Linked DNA regions of Homo sapiens: region 1 is linked to region 2. Evidence: promoter capture Hi-C in human tissues and cell types (Jung and others, 2019). All regions are on one chromosome and are shown on one strand. The core of a region is centred on a gene start or on the middle of the fragment in contact, and the rest is flanking DNA. Distances in the headings are between cores, read along the strand shown.

Region 1 (6,198 bases), core at 948-3,447, 470 kb before region 2:
TCCATATCTGTCTTACCCCATATATTAAAGATGAACAAAAGCTTAAACTTCTACACAAAAGAAAAATACCTGACATGACACATTTTTAAGAGTCTCCAATTGGTTAAAATCAAGTACATGATAGAATTAAGCATTCATGTGTACTGATTTTTAATTTTTTTTAATTATTTCAAATTCATTTAAAAATCCAATCAGAACCAAAATGTTTACAGAACCCAAATAGTAACTTCACAGGACTCTAGTAAATAATCTCTGAAGTCTCTTAAAAATATTTTTCAGTCTGATTCATATATACTCATTGCCTATAGGAAATGTGATAAAGAATTTATTTTTAAAATCTAATTATCTTTTTGTAATAAGCCTCCTTTCCTTTAAAGGAAAAGGTGCACCAATTCCTATTCAGAATCTCAAAGTTAAAAACATAGAGAAACAATTTCTTACAAGACTATTATAATAATCTGTTCAATCTTACTGAGAACCAACTTGACGGAGCAGACAGATGATAAAAAGTGCTATAAAATGTTCATTACTTCAGAAAAACTGCCTAAAGATAGAAACGAATAACTCTTCATCTCTAACTTCAAGAAGTTAACAGTCTAACAGAGGATACAGTATATTCATTCATTCAACAAGGGTGTCTCCTCAGTGCCATCAGCCACTGTGCAAGCAACTGGGTCTAAACAGTGAACAAGATACACATGAACCCTACTTGCATAAATTTAGATTTTAAGGGCAGTAGATAACTAACAAAGAGCTTGAAAAAAAGAGACCATATGAGTAGGTTAACTTTTTTTTTTTTTTTTTTTTTTTTTTTTGAAGATTGCTGCCTACTATGTGAAAGTTAATATAAACTGGAGGGATCGAGCCCAGCCATTGAGAGTCCAATTAGGAGCTACTACAATGATGACGGTCGCTACAAAATAAAAAGAACTCAAAAGAGGGAGCAACAAATTCAGCTGAAGTATGGGGAAACAAAAAAGCCTCAGAGAAGTCATGTTGCAGCTCAATACTGAAAGATAAGAAGCAGTCTAGACAAGTAAAGCAAGGAAATTTGTACAGAAGACCATATGAATAGCATGTTTGGAAAACTTCAAGTAGTTCTTCATGATGAGTCTTGAATGAGGTGAATTATAGCTAGAAAGGCAGATTGAGAAAAAAACAGTAAAGAATATTTTACAAGAAGAGAAAGTAAACACCTCCTGGACACTAAGGAATACTTTTAAGCAAGGTGCTTACATGACCAGGGTTACATTTTAGAAAGATTCTTCCAAAATCAGTTAGCCTAAAAACAAATATAAGAAGTCTAGCCACCTAAACAAGCATCGTGCTTCCCAATAAATACACTGTCTCAAAGTCCTAATCTAGTAACTTACCTTGACAACCAAATACAGTACAACCAAGTACTCTTAAGTTTCAGAGACCAAGCAACTAGGACCAAGTTCAGGTCACACTATAGTTGACTAGCTATTAAAACAACAAAAAAAGGGAGGAGTCACCATAGAAAAAACGCTAAAAACGTGAAAAATGCAGTGGTGTCAGGAGATAAGAAGAGTCAAGTACAGAATACTCTTCTTGATTACACTCAGAAATGGGCTAATAACAGAGAAACTGTTTTATTCCAGTGTAAGAATACTTCCACTTTTTGCCAGTTACACAGAGATGCACCCCTTATATGTAATAATGAATTATGGTTCCTGACAAGCAGCTCAATCACCAAATTTAATTTAATACACAATACTTCAACCAAAGATTAGATTAGAAACAGCAAAGTACAACAGCACTGTGGTGTGCAACAGCTATACACTAGTTAGGTTCCCACAGCTTAAAACTCTCTAACAAGCTTTAGAGCAGGGTGGGGGAGGACTTACTATTTTGCAGAGGTTCCTATTCAATGAACTGGAAAAGTTCTTAATTCAAACATGACAAGTGACATACTGAAGAATTCAACTGTTTTAAGAAGATGAATCCTACCTTTCCAGGGTCATCCTTAGATCGAGGCACTTTAAGGAAACATTTGTTCAATGACAGATTATGTCGTATGGAATTCTGGAATTAAAGAAGAAAAGCCATAAGGTCAATAAAATCCAAAAAACATAACCCAAATTTAAAAACAGAATTAGAAATCTAAACATCTTTATGCTTTGCAAAACAATTACAAATGGAATAAACTTTTTAATCAGCTTAAAATTTAAATCTTTCTGACTTTCAAATTATGAATGCTATGAGGGGAAGCTGTTACTGGAAAATAATTTCTAGAGGATTTCATAAAATGTAATATATGTAGCATTTTAAGTGCTTATGACTTTTATTGATACAGGAAGATGCCTGTAATGTAATGTTAAATATTAAATTCCAAATATAAAATTGGCATATTATGATACATATTATGACTTTAATTGTGGTACTTATTTTATTTATTTATTCTTGGAAATAAGCCAGAATGCAAAATGTAAGAAGTTACTCTACATGAAATTAAAGATGATGACTATTTTCTTCTCTTTACTTTTCTGCAAAGTCCAAATGGTCTGCAAGACACATGTATTACCACTTATTAATTAGTTTAAAAAATGCTTTAAAAAAACATTCACTGCTCTATTACAAAAAAACATATAGAACCCTATTAGGTTCTCACCACAATCTGTAAAAAAGAAAACCACATGGAAAGATACTGGCTACAGGGAGCTGGGAAGAACATCTAAATTCTTCATTGTAGCAGGGAAGAACACCCAAGGTGGGTAGCAGGAAAATGCCCTTGGAAACCTGCAGAGTCTGTGAAAAAGAAATTTGTTCATGAATAGGTAGGACTGTACCCCAATTCTTACAGAATATGCCCCAAAGTCCATTTCTTCTCAATTAAATGCTCCAAAACCCATTCTCAAATTATCTTGGTTTGTTCCCAAATGGCTAGTATTTGGGAGAGAAGAGGTCCAACTGCATTTAGCCATTACTTAGAATGGTACCTTCTGGGATCATATTTTGACATAATATCTGCTTTATTGTTTAATATAAAATTCAGTAGTCTAACAAGAATGCCTATAATAAAACTTATCTCCCTCAGGCACAATATTGGAATTTTAAACGTTTTTAAAAGATGACTACAGAATATAAATTCAAGACCATCTATTACCAAAGCAGAAATTTAAAACTTATGCTTGGGATGTAAACAGCTACAAAGAATGATGCTCTCTCCCAAAGAGAAAACCCTAGGTAAGCTTTAAAAAAAATAAACAAAAAAAACCTATTTTTAAGCCACATCAGAGAGCTCAGGTTGCAAGGCAACCAAACCACATTCCTAAGAGGAGCAAGGCTATTCAATGAGAAACTGGACACACAACTAAATCACCTTTGGCAGAGCACAGGAAAAAGAGATGGCCACCATCCAAGCAGTTAAAAAGAAATTAGCTAAAATTTTAAAGGCCAAGCGTGGGGCTGTCACTTTAGAGCAACAAGAACCCCAGACACGAGAAGTTCCCACACACTCTTAAGCTCTTCTCCATAGGTCTTTACCATGTGTTCCTAAGAAAAAATAGGGGTAGGAAAGGAGACCCAAGAAAGTCTCCCCTAGTGGCATAAACAGGAAGAAAGTGATTGACAGTGACAGGCAGTGAGGAGACAAAGCCCACCAACCTTCCATAGATTTTACAAAGCAAAAAAACAAGTTTGCAGTAAAGGCAGCAAAACCTGTCACCCATAGGACTCTGGCAAAGATTCACTGCTTCTGGGGGAAGAATGGAAACAAAACCCTGGTGCCTCTAGGAAGGGATAGGAAACCCTTACCCAGTACATAGGCAAAGATGTTCTGCTGCTGGAGGAAAAGTAGAAGCAAATCCCTTGAACTCTGGGAGAGGTATAGGAAACTACCTTGGGCCCAGGATCCTATACAGATACCATGTAGAGGTCTGCTACACCTGGAGAAGAGGCGCGAAACTCTCACCCAAAAGTAACTACAGATACACAAGACTAGTCTGGCTGAGGGAAGAAACACTGAAACAGCCCACCCTAAGTTCGAGGGTCTGCATAAGACTAAGGCTGGACCAACACAACAGAGAAAACTCCTTGCCTCTACCAAAAGCATACCACTGAATAACAAGCAAACACAGTCTACTGACAGAGAAGGGACGAGAAATCCCCATGTGTAAAAAGGTGGGCAGAGACAACTAAAATCTAAAGAGATGAAAAAACAAAAAAATCCTACCGCACCCTCTCCAAGCACAAATTAACAGGAGCCCACTGCTGGAGGAATGTAAAGTTTGTGGTATACTGAAGATAAAGACATAAATTTTAAAAAAATCCACATTACTGACAGACAGACTCAATCCCCACAAGAACGGCCTGAGAAAAAAGATGCTTGTCCATTCACAAGTACAAGTACTATTTAACTCAACGTCTACCATTCTTCTACACAGATATCTGGTCTCAGGCAACAATTATAAGACATAGAAAAGAAAGGAAAACTTACTGCCAAGAGATAAAATAATCAACAAAACCCAAGAGAAGACTCAGGTGTTAGAACTATCAGAAAAAAAAAATTAAAATAACCATGCTTAATATGTTAAAGGGTCTAGCAGAAAAAAAGTGGACAACTTGCTTGCATAAAGAGATGGAGAATTTCAACAGAAATGTGAAAACTAAAGAAAGAGACAAATATAAACGATAGAAATAAAAAACATTAAACATGATTAAAGATTTTTAAAATTCCTCAGATGGGCTCATCATTAAACTAGACACAACTAGGGAAAGGCTCAGAGAATTTTGAGGGTAGAGTAACAGAAATTTCCAAACAGAGACTGGCACATTCACAAAGAGCAAAACAAAAACAAAACAGATCATCCAAGAACTGTGTGATGATAAATGCAATTAAAGTCCCAGAAGGAGAAAAAAAAGGAATGGGGCAGAGGGAAAATCTGAAGTAACAGTCAAGAATCTTCAAAAAAATAATGCAAGACATCAACCCAAATATGCAAGAATTTCAGAGAACACCAAGCAGAATAAAGTAAAAATCCACATCCCCATATTAATTACAGTGAAAGGGCTAAAAATCAAAAAAAAGAACATCTTGAAGGCAGCCAGAGAAAGCAGATTATATATAAAGGAATAAAGGTAAGAATTACAGTGGACTTTTCAAAAACTATGCAAGCCAGAAGGCAATGGAGTGACATCTTAAAATACTGAAAGAAAAAAAAACCTGTGCAGTGAAAATATCTCTCAAAAATAAAGGCAAAATAAAGACTTCCAAACAAAAGCTGAAAAAATTCATTTCGGCTCACTGACACTGTTATAAGGAAGTTCTTTTGGCAGAAGTATGAAATCAAACAAAAATGCAGATCACAAAAATAAATGAACAGTGCCGGAAATGGTAAAAAATGAAGGTAGATTTAATGCTTTAAAAAAAACTGTATGAAGATATTCAGACTGTAAAATATAAAAAATAAATTGTATAAAGCAAATATAATTTATTACGGAGTTTGGAACCATGTAAAAGTAAAATGTATGACAACAATAGCAAAAAGGATGGGTCAAAGGAACTGGAAAGACGTGGTTTATAAAATTCTTACATTATACATGAAATGGTTTAATACTATTTGAAGGTAAAGTGCAGTAACTTAAAGATGTTACAATCAACTGAATATCTGCGTCCCCTCAAAATTCTTATGTTGAAACCTAATTCCCAATGTGATGATATTTGGAGGTGGAGCCTTTAAGGTGATTAGGTTATGAAGGGTGTCCTCATGAATGAGACTAGTGTTTATAAAAGAGGCCTCAGAGAATTTATTTCCCTATTCTACCATGTAAGGTTATAATGAGAATGGGATCATCTATGAGCCAGGAAACAGGCCATCACCAGAATCTGCTGGCATCTTGATTTTGGAATTCCCAGCCTCCAGAATTATGAGAAATAAACATTTGTTGTTTGTAAGCCCCCCACTCTAGGTTTTTGGTTTTCTTTTTGTTGTTATAGCAGCCTGAATGAACTAAGATGTATATAGTAAACCCTAGAGTAATCACTAAAAACAATTTAGAAAGGGGATAACTAATAACAGAATTGTGGCGATAAAATGGAATCATAAAAAATACACAATTCAAATCTAAAATAAGACATGAAAAAAGAAAGAGGCATCAGACAAACTAGTTCACCTACCCAGCTTAAAAGTTCAAGATGAGGGGAAAATACAAATCAAGATGGTCAGAAGAAACAAG
Region 2 (5,742 bases), core at 50-2,549:
TAGGTGGAAGAGCTGGGGGTATCTGAGGCCCAGCTCAACTCAGCCTGAGCCCCGCAGCAACCCCTCCCCAGCAGCCATTCAGACAACAGTCACTTTCCCCTCTGCCCATGGCAGCTGGAAGCTTGCCTCTTCACGGGTGCATGGGTCCATCCTGGGCCCTGGGGGGTGCTCAGGAGACCTGGGTCCCTCAGCGAGGCTAGATGACCTGCCTGAACTGACCTGCCTGAACTGGCACAATGGGGCTGGTTGAAGGCCGCTCTGCTCCCAGCTCCCATGGGGAGCAGATTGTCCCTGGGGGCTCCTGGGCAGATTGCAGGTGGATCACCTCCACCCCAGAGTTAGAACTTCGGCGGTGCCTGTCAGGCTCATCTCCACACCCCAGAAGGAGAGGGACTGCATGCAGACACACCTGTCTGTGCATGCATGTGCACGTGTGTGCGTGTGCATGCGTGTTTGCATGCATGTGCATGCACCCATATGCTGGCACACAGGCCTGGGAGCAGGACTAGGGAGCAGGTGTGCATCATACAGTGTGTGTCTGTCTACTGACTGTGGGGAGAAGTGGATGAAGGGTCTTAACTGAGTCTTTCAGAGTGCCACAGGTATTAGTATTCCCCTTTAGAGATGAGAACATCACAATGGGAAGAGGTTTGGTGACTAGTTCAAAGTTATAGTGACAGAGCAGGAATCTGGACCCACAGCCGCCAGACCCTAGAGCCCTCCCCTCCCACAGGGCAGCAGGCTGGCCTGGACCGTCAATGGGCACAGGGCAGTAGTGGGGGAATTGTAGAGCGGAGGCTGGAGGTTGGAGCCCAGCGCAGATAGCAGACTGTGAGGAAAACTTGCTCCAGACTCCCCTGCTGTTCCCACCTCCCATCTCCCACCCCGCCGGCCTGGGGCCTACCGTCCAGGGCGAGCAGCGAGTCGTAGAGCTTGCACTGCACTTGCCCAGTGCTCTGGGAGGCGCAGGACATCCAGAGCCCTTCATAGAGGCCCACGGCAGTGATGATGGCGTCGCCTGCGTAGGAAGACTGCTTCCACTGTGGCAGGGCTGTGCTAGCAATGATGCCCACCCAGCCACCCAGGGCCAAGAAGTAGCCCAGGAGCTGGAGGCCTGAGTTGGCCATGGCCCAGGAGAGAGGACCGAGGGTCCCAGGACTCAGAGCTGGGCCAGGGTGCCAGCAGGGGCTTTGGTCATGGCCAGGTGGGAGGAGCAGCTGGGCAGGGGGAGCAGCGAGAAGGAGGGTCAGAGGCAGAGAAGGAGAGGTGGTGCGGCGGCAGCGGCTGGAGCAAAGGCAGTGGCTCTGGACTCCAGAATGCAGGGGGAGGCCCAGGGGCTGGAAAAGGCCAGGGCCCGCCCACAGCAGCCGCCTAAGCCAGAGCAGGGTCCCCAGCAAAGCTCATGCCCAGCCCCCTGGGGGCGGAGGGCCGGCCCATGGCCCAGGTGGTGTCCCTGCCCCGCCCCGTTCCGCAGGGATAGGGAAGGGAGGGGCTGAGAGGAATGACCCAGCTGCCCTCTGGGCCTTTCCCCACAGGGAAACCCCTTTAGGAACCTGATTCGGGTGTCCTAAAATTCGGATAATCCCTAACCCAAACACCAGCCCTGGGAGGATGGACTTTGCTCTTGCAAGGCTGATCTAACCCTTGGGGTTTTCTGCCCTTTGACTTTAGGACAGAAGGGAAAGGAATGCCAGTTTGCAGCGGGTAAAACTAGAGTTAGATGTCAAGGATAACTTTTTGGCAGGGGCTCTGAAGCTGGATGTGGGGAGGCTGAGCTAGCGGTGGGGTGTTGGGAAGAGGGGTCATGGGTACCTGGGAGCTGTGTGTGCCAAAAATCAGGGAGGCCAGACCAGGAAATATGTACTGTGGGGTCTTTTTGAGATCTGAGGGGGACAGAAAAGGGGCCCTATCGAGGCTGGGCCAGCGCTGGCTGCCGGCCAGCAAGGGGCCTGGTGGGGAGCTGGGGAGACAGCCCCAACCTTCTGGCATCAGCCTGAAGGAAGGCGGATTGCTCAGCCCCTTAATCCCCTTGCTGGCTGGCTTAGTAGCTCCTGCTGGGACTGGAACACTGGGCCCTGGCCCCCAACTCTAGAGCAGCCTGGCGCGGAGCAGTGGCCTCTGCACATTCCCGGGGTTCAGGCTGCCCGCTCCGAGCACCCCCACCTCCCTCTTCTCTCTCCCAGTCTCTCTTGGTCTTCAGGAGTAGGGGAATGTTTAACTCTCTTCCACCTCATTAGCAATCCCCTCACGTTCAAGTGGGCCCCACTGCAGCGTGGGTGCAGAAGGAATGTCACAACCCTGCTTCCACTCCTGCCAGCCCCCCGCCGCCCCCTCCGTCCCCAACAGCCCACCCACCCTTCCTGGACTGCACTGGGGGAAGGCAGGGTCCTGCTGCAGACCCCTGCTGGCTTCCTCCCCCACAGCCCCAACCCCCCTCTGAAGGGACAAGTCCCCAGCCCGCTCTTGCATTCTTCACGTGGCTATGCAAACGAGAGGGTGCCAGGCGCTGAGCAGACAATGGCAGCCCTGTGTGCCCGCCCAGGGCGTAGGCCTCTGGTATGGCCTGCAGCTCTGGCCAGAGATGGGGGAGTGGTCTGCCATCTGAGGGTCAAGGGTGGGCACTGCTTGACCTGTGGTGGTGCACACTGGGACCCTCAGGCTCTCTGTGCTGGGAGGGTCAGAGCCACGTGGATCCGAGCACACACAGACCTGCTTCCTGGACGACCTGTGGGTCCCAAGACCAAATGGGGTCTAGGACAGTGGCAGAGAAGTAAGTCCTGAGCTCAGATTCTTCTACCACAATGACAAGACAGTAGGATTGAGGGGAGCCTCCTCCATCCTACTGGGGCCGCAATGGGCACCCTGTGACCAGTGCATTAATTTAAGCATGTGGGCCACTGTTGCAGGCAGCAGGCCTCCTAACAGTAAGGAGACCACGGCAGAGGGAGGTAATAGACCCCCAGCCAGGAAACAGCAGGAAGGGCTTTCCGCTTGAAACTGTGTGGTGCTGGCCCCTGTGGTCTCTCTCCCACACTCCTCCCTTTTTGAGGGAGGCACCAGGTCCAGATTGAAGGGGGCTGCGGGCAGTGACAAGATGCTCCCCAGGGGTGACCTGAATGACTGTGGTGCCTCAGGGTCCTCACTCTAAATGGGAGGTTTGCTTCATGGAGTTGTGGTGGTCCGTTAAAGTAAGCGATGTCTGGGGAGGGCAGGGGCCTGGTGCTGGGTAGCTGCTCCGCATATGCTCCTCCAAAGGCAAAGTCCTCCTTCTCTCCACGCTGGGCCTTGGCCCCTTTTCCCCGCCATCTGCAGGCGCTCTCTCTGTAGGGAAGATCCAGGGGTCATTCTGGTTTCAGGGGGACCTGGGTCAGGAGCCCAGAGGCCAGTCAGAAGCATGCCTCAGAGACCATGGGCTGCGGCCCCCTCCATTGACAATTTGAGGGCCAAAGAGAGAAAGGGAGCCACGGGTCCACAGGGCCACAGAGCCAGCAGGAGGCCTGCATGCTCCTCCATCCTGGGTGTTCCCAGAGCCTCTTCGTGATCCGGAACAGTGCTCTCCTCTTCCTCTGAAGTGCTTCTGTTTATCCCTTCTCTTTGTTATTTGAGGCTTTGAGTCTGTTCTACCAAAATATTCTCTCCTACCCTGACGGCCTTCCCTCATTCTTGTTCCAAAGCCTTTTGGAATTCAGATTCTGCTTCTGGAGCGGCATTCCTTAACCTGGCACAGCTTCTCCACCCAGGACACCTACCACTCCTGGTGCCCCCCCTTGCAGTCCAATGACTCCCAGACATGCGGGGAGAACAGGAAGGCTCAGGGTCACAGCCCAGCCTCCATTAAGAGCTCACTGAAACTGCCCTGGGGTAGCACAGCACCCTGTGCTTTCACTCAGGCTATGAGAAGCCTACAGTTCTAGCTTTACCCCTGCCACTGAAAAGCTATGGGACATTAGCCAAATCCTCAGCTTCCCTGGGCCTGGTTTCTCCATTGAAAAGTAGGGATAATAACACTTGCCCTGTCTGATGCATGAGGGAGTTTACAAGGATCAGATGATAGGTGAGAAAGGCTGTTTGAAAGCATAAAACGCCTGCAGAACTGTGACTAATGAAAGCTCTGTTCCAAAAAGACTCCCCGCACAGTCTGCCCCTCCAGCCTTCGCACTCTGGGAGTGGGCAGACTGCCTGTGGCTGAAGACCCACTGCCACTTCCTCTGCAACAGTGCCTGACCGAGAGCCAGCCTTGCTAGGTATGTGTTGATCATTGACTGATTGGTATGAGGATTCAATGCTTTTGCCTCCCTCCCTGTGAAAAATCGGAGACCTTTCCACCGCCCTCTCTCATTGTCAGTTAGGAGGGTCCGATTCAGTCTTTAGCAATCTAGCACCTTCTCTGCAATCATCATTTGAAATTTTGGAGTTCTTATCACCCTCCCAACTCAGAGTCTGAGATTCCCGGAACTATAAGCTTGGAATGGAGACTACTTGCCTCAGGGCGCACAGCTAGAAAGCAATACAGCCAGCTGTGTGGCCACCCCCAACGATTCTGCCTGCCCAGGCACGGCTAAGCATCCTGATCTGCAATCCCATCATACTCTTGGCATATTTCCATTCACTGCACTTATTGCGTCGTTTACCTCCTTCCTAAGGTCCCTGAGCACCTTGAGACTGTGTTAGCAGACACATTTTTGTGTTCCACCCTCTCGCCCGGGCCCTGCGCCTCTGTGACACATGTGGCTGTCCCATTTACCTGTGCTAACCACACTGAGTACAGCATCTGTCTCTTGATGCCCCTGCTGAGAGCTCTGCTAGATGCCTGGGGCGCCAGAGACCAGCGGCGTCTTCCACATCCAAATCTTCACTGTGTTTGAGGAGTTGCCTTTCATCCCCTCCAACCCTCCCATGGGCTCTCTCCTTTCTTCTCAAGCAGTCATCCTCTCATTGCTCGCGCGCCCTTGCATGTGCGTTACCAAACGCAGACCGAAATCACAGTCGCATCTCAGCCGGGCTGCCATCACCCCATGCTTCCAGGAGGACTCGCCCCACTCTATATACACTTATCTTGGGCCTGCTGCCTTGAAAACATCTGGCCTTTTGTGAGCTCAGTTAAGAGGCTGCTGCCTGTATCTGTTTAGCATAAGTTGAAACTGTAAAGTCATCTGCCTTGATGTGGAAACTTCTGGAAAACCAGAATTAGGCTGATGTAGTCTTCTGTAATGTTGATGTCTACCATGGGCTAAGTGTCGTGCTGGTTGCTTTGTGAGCATTCCCTTGTTCATCCGCTCAACCATCGCGGGAAGGACTGTGATTCCATTCCGCTGGTGAGGAAACACATACAGGTTCCCTAACTTGCTGGAGGTCACACAACTCCACATGGTGGAAGTGGGAGTGTCACCCAGCTCAGTGTGTGGGTAAAGTTCATGCTTTTTGCACTAACGTGGTCCTCTCTGTACGCCGAGTGAGCCACCCAAATAGGATGGCGGGGATCAACCATGATAAAAGGAGGAGTGACTGTCTTGACTGGATCATTCCCACCAGCCAACTAACACGCAGTGCTATCTCCCAGCTCAAAAAATAATCGTTTCCTAAAAAACAATTTTTCTTTTTTAATAGCAATACGGTCTTCCAATGTTGCCAAGGCTGGTCTTGAACTCCTGGGCTTAAGTGATCTCCTGACTTGGCCTCCCAAAGTGTTGGGATTACAAGTGTGTGCCACTGTGCTCAGCCCAATAAACTTTTTAATTGAAA

What was found. The method cuts DNA at HindIII sites, captures the fragments that hold promoters and counts their contacts. A contact is called where the count stands out against the background at its distance.
Region 1: a fragment that was not itself captured here is called in contact with the fragment with the promoter of CLDN19 in region 2 in 2 of the 25 tissues and cell types used here (hippocampus and mesenchymal stem cells).

Annotation. Positions count from the first base shown.
Region 1 is chr1:42,263,144-42,269,341 of GRCh38, forward strand. It overlaps FOXJ3 (forkhead box J3), which reads right to left. Exons shown (of 13, transcript NM_014947.5): 4 at 1,972-2,046. Among named protein-coding and RNA genes, the nearest start is that of FOXJ3, 69 kb to the right of the region's middle. The HindIII fragment of the contact is 5,095 bases long and covers 1-4,745 here.
Region 2 is chr1:42,738,937-42,744,678 of GRCh38, forward strand. CLDN19 (claudin 19) reads right to left here and starts at 1,300. Exons shown (of 5, transcript NM_148960.3): 1 at 905-1,300. The coding sequence starts at 1,127. RefSeq lists an enhancer at 2,657-3,259. The HindIII fragment of the contact is 9,679 bases long and covers 1-5,742 here.